Regions from separate parts of the Homo sapiens genome. Here all the other regions are linked to region 2. Evidence: promoter capture Hi-C in human tissues and cell types (Jung and others, 2019). All regions are on one chromosome and are shown on one strand. The core of a region is centred on a gene start or on the middle of the fragment in contact, and the rest is flanking DNA. Distances in the headings are between cores, read along the strand shown. Region 1 has its middle 17 kb from the start of GCOM1. Region 2 holds the start of CGNL1 (cingulin like 1). Region 3 overlaps CGNL1 (cingulin like 1).

Evidence for each region. Contacts are between HindIII fragments. The study calls those that stand out against the background at their distance.
Region 1: a fragment that was not itself captured here is called in contact with the fragment with the promoter of CGNL1 in region 2 in 2 of the 25 tissues and cell types used here (H1 embryonic stem cells and pancreas).
Region 3: a contact is called between a fragment that was not itself captured here and the fragment with the promoter of CGNL1 in region 2, in 1 of the 25 tissues and cell types used here (mesendoderm cells).

What each region holds. Positions count from the first base shown.
Region 1 is chr15:57,573,679-57,576,378 of GRCh38, reverse strand. No RefSeq gene overlaps it. Among named protein-coding and RNA genes, the nearest start is that of GCOM1, 17 kb to the left of the region's middle. The HindIII fragment of the contact is 4,052 bases long and covers 1-2,700 here.
Region 2 is chr15:57,375,135-57,377,834 of GRCh38, reverse strand. CGNL1 (cingulin like 1) reads right to left here and starts at 1,330. Exons shown (of 19, transcript NM_032866.5): 1 at 1,268-1,330. The HindIII fragment of the contact is 14,520 bases long and covers 1-2,700 here.
Region 3 is chr15:57,505,312-57,508,011 of GRCh38, reverse strand. All of the region lies in intron 8 of CGNL1 (cingulin like 1), which reads right to left. Among named protein-coding and RNA genes, the nearest start is that of GCOM1, 85 kb to the left of the region's middle. The HindIII fragment of the contact is 4,195 bases long and covers 1-2,700 here.

The DNA of each region.
Region 1 (2,700 bases), core at 60-2,559, 200 kb before region 2:
ACAAGAGTTAACAGTTGCTGAGAGCATCTACAGACCAGACACTATAGAAAGCTTTGTCCACATTCTCTCATTTTATGTTACACATGTCTATGTACATATATACATATATATTCTATCACATCCTTCCAATAAGGTAGATGCTCTCATAAAGTCAATGTTGCCTCCCTGAGCGTGGGAGCTGGAGCCAGCGGCTTGAGTGGAGGGTGATATGTTAATGCACCAGGAGGGGCCCAGGCACCTGTAGTCTCAGGAAGGGTAAAGAACTGGTTCTGAGAGTGGAGCAATGGCTTGCAGAGCTGCACATAACCTGAGGAATTAGTGGTTGCCGCTCTGACTGTGAGTTCTCAGAGATGGGATAGTTTGAAGCATGGTGCCTTCCAAGCTGAGGAGGAAGTGGGGCTGAACAAAGGGCGAGGGGTTTGGTCACAGGGCTGTGACAGCCATGACAGGTTGCTCATCATCCCCAGTGGCGACATGATGGAAGTCTTCCAAATCTCAAAATTCTATGAATTTCAAGGGGATGGACATGTCGAGGACACATCCCTGGAGGAAAGTGAAGGGGAACTCCATCACCTACCAACCAAATGTGGAGACGGAACATGCAAGAACCAGGACCCTGACGAATACAATTGCTTCTGTCAGTGGTTCCCAAACTCTCCATTGCCAAGGACATCTTTCAGTCACACTCGCTATGAATAGCACATTTGGAAAGTTTTTGTCTATCCAATTACATTTTAATGAGTAATTAATTTGTTTTCAACATTTCTATTAATCAAGGAGATTAACAATTGCCAATTAGAGCTTCTAACGAGCTGAGACCACCAACCTTGCCTGGCTGGATTGCTGTTGGCCCCAAGCCAAGAAGCAATGATCCCATCAGCCAAGGCAGCAGTGCTTGGGAAGCTGTACATTTTCTTTCCGTCAAGCTTTTCAGAGTAGCGGAATGGCCTGCAGGTCCCCATGAGAACATCACCAGGCCCAAAGGGTGCATAGAGCCTTGTGTCAGGAATCATTGTCCTCATCTTGTCCCCCATGGCCTGGGCCGTCTTGCCAGCAGGCAGAGCAGAGGGAGGGGCAGCTATAGGTTGGGCCAGGATTTGCATCCCTGAAGGACAATGTGGTAATTAACATTAAACAGAGGCTAAGATATTGAGATTTCATACGCATCTTTCCCCAAATTTCTAAAGTTGTGCCAAGACTGTGTGATTTTGTTCTTTTCAATAAAGGCAATCTGTTAGGTTTAGAGTCTAGAGGGGAAAACCAAAAGAACGTGAGCCATTTTTGTAATTTTAATCTTTCTAATAGCCATATTTATTGACAATAAAAGGAAACAGGTAAACTTGATTTTACTCATATATTTTATTTAACCCAATATATTGAAATATTATCATTTAACATTAATATTATGTTACTAGTAAAATAGTAATGAGATATTTTACATTTTCTTGTACTAAATCTTCAAAATTCATCGTGTATTTTACACTCAGGTCATTTCAATGTGTACTGGCTACAATGTGAGCACTCAATAGCTGCAGGGTGGTAGTGGTTACAAAGCTAATAAGAAGAGGAACTGGAATTGGGACCCCCAAGGGGGAACTGGGACCCTGTTCCGACCTCCAAGTCAGTTCTGTCCCTGCTGCTATGCAAGAACTATTTTTGTTCCAACACAAGTAAATGACTTCTCTGAAGATATCCTTAAAGCTTACCCAGGCCAGCCCCCCACCCAAGGTGGAGGGGCCTATTGATGTGGCCTGGAGTTCACGGGAACATCATAGCACAAGATAAACTCGCTCAAAGAAGACATCAGGGCCAAGATGACAGACTTCAGGGCTACTCGCTCTGTTGCCCAGGATGGAGTTCAGTGGCTCAATCACGACTCACTGCAGCCTCAACCTCCCTGGGCTCAGGGGATTCTCTTGCCTCAGCCTCCCAAGTAGCTGGGACTACAGGCATATAGCATCACACCTAGCTAACTTTTGTATTTTTTTGCAGAGAAGGGGTTTCGCAAACTCCAACTCAATTAGATGAATTCTGGCTCCATAAGAAGCATGTGTTTCCCACTGGGGCCTCCCCTCCGACCTTCCAGAACTTGGCACTCAAACTAGGTATATCTTATCCCTTCCCCAAGTCCCTGTCTAGCTGCTCTATCCACGTACAAACTCAGAGGCTATTTTCTACCATGCAGACTGGGATTCAGAGGAAGAACCTGACACAGGCAGGGGAAGCAGAGGAAGCAATGGGGAGAAAGAACTTGCAGGGTTCCTGCAATGTCCCCATCCCTGATTCAAATTCCCTGTTCGTGGGCTCTGTGAGACATCCCTCCAACCATAGAACAAGTTCTTTCTGCCACTTGAGGTCATCTCAGTGAGTTTTGGATGATTGCAGCCAATTGACCCTAACAGCTGGGCCTCACTCAGAGGCCCAGGAGTGGGCTCCAGTTGAGCAGAAGCCTGCGGCCTTATTTCTGCTTCCTCTTCTAGATGGCAGTAGGGCCACCCCAGTTTGTCCCCACATCCCATCAGCATTTCTGAGGATTTTGTTCAGTCGTATTACAAGTTTACTGGGGTCCTGCCATGGAGGACCTAAGGCCTCTGTGGGCCTCTGTCCTGTCTACTCCACATTCAGAGCCCTGGCTCTCTTCCTGTGAGTCCCAAGCTGCCCATCAAGTCTTCTCTGATCCCCAGTTGGAACACATGCTCC
Region 2 (2,700 bases), core at 81-2,580:
TGAAATCATTCCCGAATATGACAAGTCAAATTATCACTTGGTTTTCCCTGAATAGGACAACCCTGTATTATAACCTTGACCCTGACAAGGACTGCTCGGTTCTAATGCCTACACTCCCACCTCCTTGGCAGAAAGTGCCCTGGCAGTATTGACTGTAAACAGAGAGGTAGAAACAAAGGGATCTTCAGTAAAGGCACCATCTACTGTCTAAAGTTGGAAAGCACCAATCAACAGGTTCTTCAGGTGGAGAGGTGGATTAGGGAAGAGCTATGAGGACCTGAGATGAGTTCTAGATCAGGACTGATCTTGAGCCGTCCGAAGAGTGGCTGGTGGGAGCAACTCTCAAAGCAGAGGTTTTCAAACTTGCCTGCACATTAGAATCACCTGCGGCGTCTTAAAAATTCCATTGTCCAGGCTGCAACCCAGGCAAGCCGAATCCAGATCTCTGGGAGTGGGACACAGGCACCAGTATTTTTTAAAACTCTCCAGATGTGGGGCCAAGTTTGAGAACCAATGCCCGCAAAAGCATTCCCAGCGAGCTTTGAGCAACGTTTTGAGCGGCATAAGCAGAGTCGGGAGGGCAGCGGCCTTAGGGTGAAGAACACACAAAGCAAATATACAAAGTTTCAAAAATCCTGTGTAACTAACTCCAACATGACAGCCAAGTACCTGTCTAGAGGCCAAACAGTGATGCAACTTGGAAAAGTCCCGGGGAGAGCTAGAATGTGTGCTCCGAGTGAGGCGGGGGCTCTCTCGGGGATGACCTCCCTGGGCGGCGCAGTGGTCTGGAGGATCGGGGAGAGAAAGGTCACACGCCCCTTTCTTTCCAGGGGATGGTCCGGCCGAGCACGCCGAGGACTTGTGTACGACAGGATAGGTCAGAAACTGCTTCGTGTGAGTCTCTCCCAGCTGTCACTAGAGCCGGAGGGTCCAGGCAGGGGTGCGAAGGCAGAAAGTCCCTCTTCACTAAAGGGAGGTTCTGCAGGGCCTCCTCCCTCCCACCCCGCCCCGAAGCGGGTTCCCCAGGGATCGCCCGCATCTGTTCTGCGCCTGCCCTCGGCGGGGCGCGGCGCGGGAGTCCGGGTCGCATCTTCGAGCCCCAGGACACGCGCGGCGCGGGTCACCGAGAGTGGACGCGCGGACTGAGCACAGTGCACCTGGCTGAGCCCGAACCCCTGGGGGTCCCGCCGCCCTGGGCGGCCCCTAGCACCCCGAAACCCGGCTGCCGGCGCACACCCCGCCCCGCTCCAGCCCGGAGCTCACTCACCGCCGCCGCCGCCTCCTCCCGCGTCCAGCTCCCGCCGCAGCCAGCAGAGCCCGGCCGGAGTGCAAGGGCCGCGGCGCCGCCGGGAGGCCGAGCGAGCCCGCGCCCCGCCCCGCAGTCGCCGCCCGCCCTCCTGGGAGGAGGGGCAGGGGCTGGCCGGGGGCCTGGACCCGCCGGGGCTGCCGGCGGGCCCAACCCTCCCTTCAATCCGCCCGCGGCCCGTCGGGACGAACCTACCCAGGAACCCCCGCACCACCCGCCCTCGGCTCCGCTGGGCCCGGGGCTGCGCTTAGACCTCACCCCTTCCCGGAGCCGTTCGTCCTTCCACCTCCCCTCCGCCGTCACCGGGCATTTTTCTTCTCCCAGCCTCGGCCTCTCCAAATTCCTGGCCTGCAGGAAGCCCTCCCTATTTCGCGCTCTCGACTGCGCCGAGCTCAGTTTACCCCTTTCCCTTCCTTTCCCTGCTTAGCCTTTTTCCCCCTCACTGTCAGAAACTTAAGGGATAGCGCTCTTCTGCCACCGCAAACCCACACCTATTTATTGAGCACCTACTGTGTCTAGACACTGGTGGGGAGGTTATCCCACTTGCGCGGTAACAAGAAATGTCTGTCTCTGTTGGAGAAACAGTAAAGTGAGGCGCCTCGTAAGGTCACACAGCTGGCGGTAGTAGGGCTGGGATTCGAATACAGTTTTTAGGTCCTTGTTTAGACCCACCCCACGATAAACTGCGGCACGCCTCTCGCTAGCTGTGAGAACTTGGGCAAAATGTTATCAGTTCTAAACCCCAGTTCACTCATCCGTAAAATGAAAAGCTGGATACTTCACCAGCTATGAGGATTCCCTGAGAAAACAACAACCTGTACTTTTTTTTTTTTTTTTTTTTTTTGGAGATGGAGTCTTGCTGTTTTGCCCAGGCTGGAGTGCAGTAGCGCGATCTCGGCTCATTGCCTCTGCCTCCCGGGTTCAAGCGATTCTCGTGCCTCAGCCTCCCGAGTAGCTGGGACTACAGGTGGCCACCACTACGCGCGGCTAATTTTTGTGTTTTTAGTAGAGACGGGGTTTCACCACGTTGGTCAGGCTGGTCTCGAACTCCTGACCTTAAGTAATCTACCCGCCTCGGCCTCCCAAAGTGCTGGGATTACAGATGTGAGCCACTGCGCCCTGCCCAACCTGTACTTAATACATGTTTGCTGACATATTGAATGAAATAGACCCTTGAAAACTTAACAATTCAAAACAATATAAAAGGACTTGAAAAAGTAATAGGTTGGTGCAAAAGTAATTGCAGTTTTGCTATTACTTTCAATGGGAAAAGCCACAGTTACTTTTGCTCCGACCTAATAATAGTGATTCATTGCCAGGAAAGAAAGAAAAAAAAAAAAAGATGCTACTTATCCCAAGTGGGCAGCATGGTCAAGGGAGTCTTTTTGGAGGAA
Region 3 (2,700 bases), core at 166-2,665, 130 kb before region 2:
GAATTCTAGACCAGATCCCGCTAACAATTCATGTATGATGACGACAGACAAATCATTTAACTTCTATCTGCCTTCACTTTCTCCCCTCTGCAACACAAAAGGGTCAGTCTATCTTGTTTCAATGTCCTGGCCAGCTCTAACAGTCTGGGATTCTAGAATGAACTTGAAGAAGTCAGGCAGCATTAGGTAGTCCTGGAATTCAGTGAGCTAAGATGACTAGAGGTTCTACTCCTACTGCCTCATGTTTACATTTTATTTTCAAATGCTGCCATTTAAACCAGATCATCTGTAACAATGTCCCTGCCACAGCATCCAGAGGTGAGGGCCATTCTCTCCTTATGGTCATTAACCTGCCGTACTTGTAGAGTTTACATATACCTTGCTTAATGAAGATTTTATTTACATCCTGTATTTCTGTTGCCCTGGTGGCAATTTTCTTGCTTATAGAACCACCTAAAAGATACTCCCTTTTAATCATATTCAATTACCCAGTTTTTCCTATGGCAACTCAGTGATTACATAGGTTAAAAATGTCTCTGGTTTTCTTCATAATGTCCTTAGGAAATAAGTCAACATGCTTCCCTTTAAAAAAACTAGTTAAGATTCACTCTCAGAGTGGCCTGTAATTAAAATATAGGTCCAAGACAAAAGTTACGACAATAAAATCCTCATATTTGCTCACAGAATGCATTTGACACACAATAAACCTACAGAGATACTCAACAAGGAAATAAAAATCCTTCTGACCACAACACACTGCAACTAAATAGATGTAGAGCAGTTAAGTGATTTGATTTTTCCGAAACACAACATGCTCCATAGTTCAGGTCTTGACATATGGTATGATTCTGTTTATACAAAATGTCCAGAATAGGCAAATCCATACAGACAGAAAGTAGACTAGTGGTTGACAAAGGATGAGGGAAAGGGGGAATTCAGATGAAAGGGGCTTCATTTAGGGTGATGAAAATGTTCTAGAATTAGATAGCGATGGTGGCTACCCAAATTGTGAATATATAAAAAACCACTGAACTGCACACTGTAAAATGCTTAAAATGAATTTTGTGTTATATGAATGTTATCTTAATAAAAACAAAAGAAAACAAAAAGAGTGCAGGCCTTGGAGTCAGCAGACCTGAATTGGTCCTGCTTGTTCTTCTCGAAACTTCAGTTTTCTCATTATTCTAAAAATGAATTGAGACATTATGCAAAGCACCTAGCAATGTTTCAGACACATAGTAAGACCTCAGTCAATGACCACAATACATTAAGGTTGGGTAGACAACAGTCACACACCCAGGACTTGAACCCGGTTCTCTGACTCCTTGCTTGTGACCTCTGCTAGTTGCTACCAGTTTCTTCCAAGTGGGGGCAGCAGCTTGAGGGAAAATTCCCCAGAGCCAGCCAGGGAAGGGAAAAGGAGGCCCCGAACCTGCCAGCTGGGGGCTTCAGCTACATCCACACACTCACCAAGACTGCATTTCAGGGGCTTCTATGAAACACAGCCTTAGGCCTTCCATTGTGCCTTTGCTTTGTTTTTTTAACACCATTCCTTAGAAAAATTCTTACAAAATGTTCCCCAGTTTCCAGGAGATAAAAGGAGCCTCACATCATATTTATAAGACACCACTTCCCTCACCATGAGAGCCACAGTCTAAGCTAACCTTGTGACCAGCATGTAAAAGTTCTGTTTATAGAACCCAACATGCCCCTGCAGTGCCGTTCGCCTTCAAGGAGCTGCTGGCTGGCGGAAGGGACTCCACCCAGACAATGCCCTGCTTCCAGCGCTCTGCGTCACTAGGAAAATATTGGGGGGTGGGAACCGGGTAAATGCAAGCGTTAGACTCCCAGTTAGAGTCGCTGTCACAGACAGACCACATGGCTTTACAAATGATTACAAATCAGCTTGCTGTCAGCACACACATGTCCAACAGGTTCAACAGGATTTTTGAAGAAAGAAGATAAACAAGCAGCCAAAGGCTCAATCTGGAAGCTCACAGGCCTACTCCAGTCCACAGTTCTGCCCTGCACCCCTGCCCGGAAGTCTTGTTATTTGTGAAAACGGATCCTTCAACTTTCCCATTTTGCTACCATATATCCATAAATGCTGAAAGGGTCTCTCCTGAATTATAAAAATCATGCCATTTTCAGAACTTAAATACAAATGCTGAGGCCAAGAACTTTCAATCCAATGGATGCTTCTCATTAGTGCTTCCTTGCAGCCCCAAACAAGACCAAATTTCCGTATAGAAAGCTGTCAACTTTTCCGTTTGCCCCACACTTCCATGGCCACAGGAGCGATGCTAAGCAGGGACTGGAGAAAGAAAAGGACATGGTCTCGGTAGGCAAGAGCCTGGGCCAAGACTGCTACAAGCGTTTAGGCTGACTCTGGTACCCACAGGGTTAAGACACCTGACAAGAGTGACCTTTATTATTTCCTCCTTTAAAGTAGTAGGCTGTTCCCTGAGACAGAGCTGAGCAGACCAGGCTCCTACAAAGCCCAGAGTGCCCTGGTTCCTCCTTGCAAGGCCAGGCTACCTGGGTCAATAGCCAGCTCTAACTGACTGGCAAGGGGAATGGGGCCAGAATAGAAACGTCCTGATCCTGGTATAGTCACCTGACCACTGTGAGGTTTTGTGCAAGTAACAACTTCTCTAAATCACAGCTCAGCTTTCTTAAAAACAGGGTGGCGTTACGGAT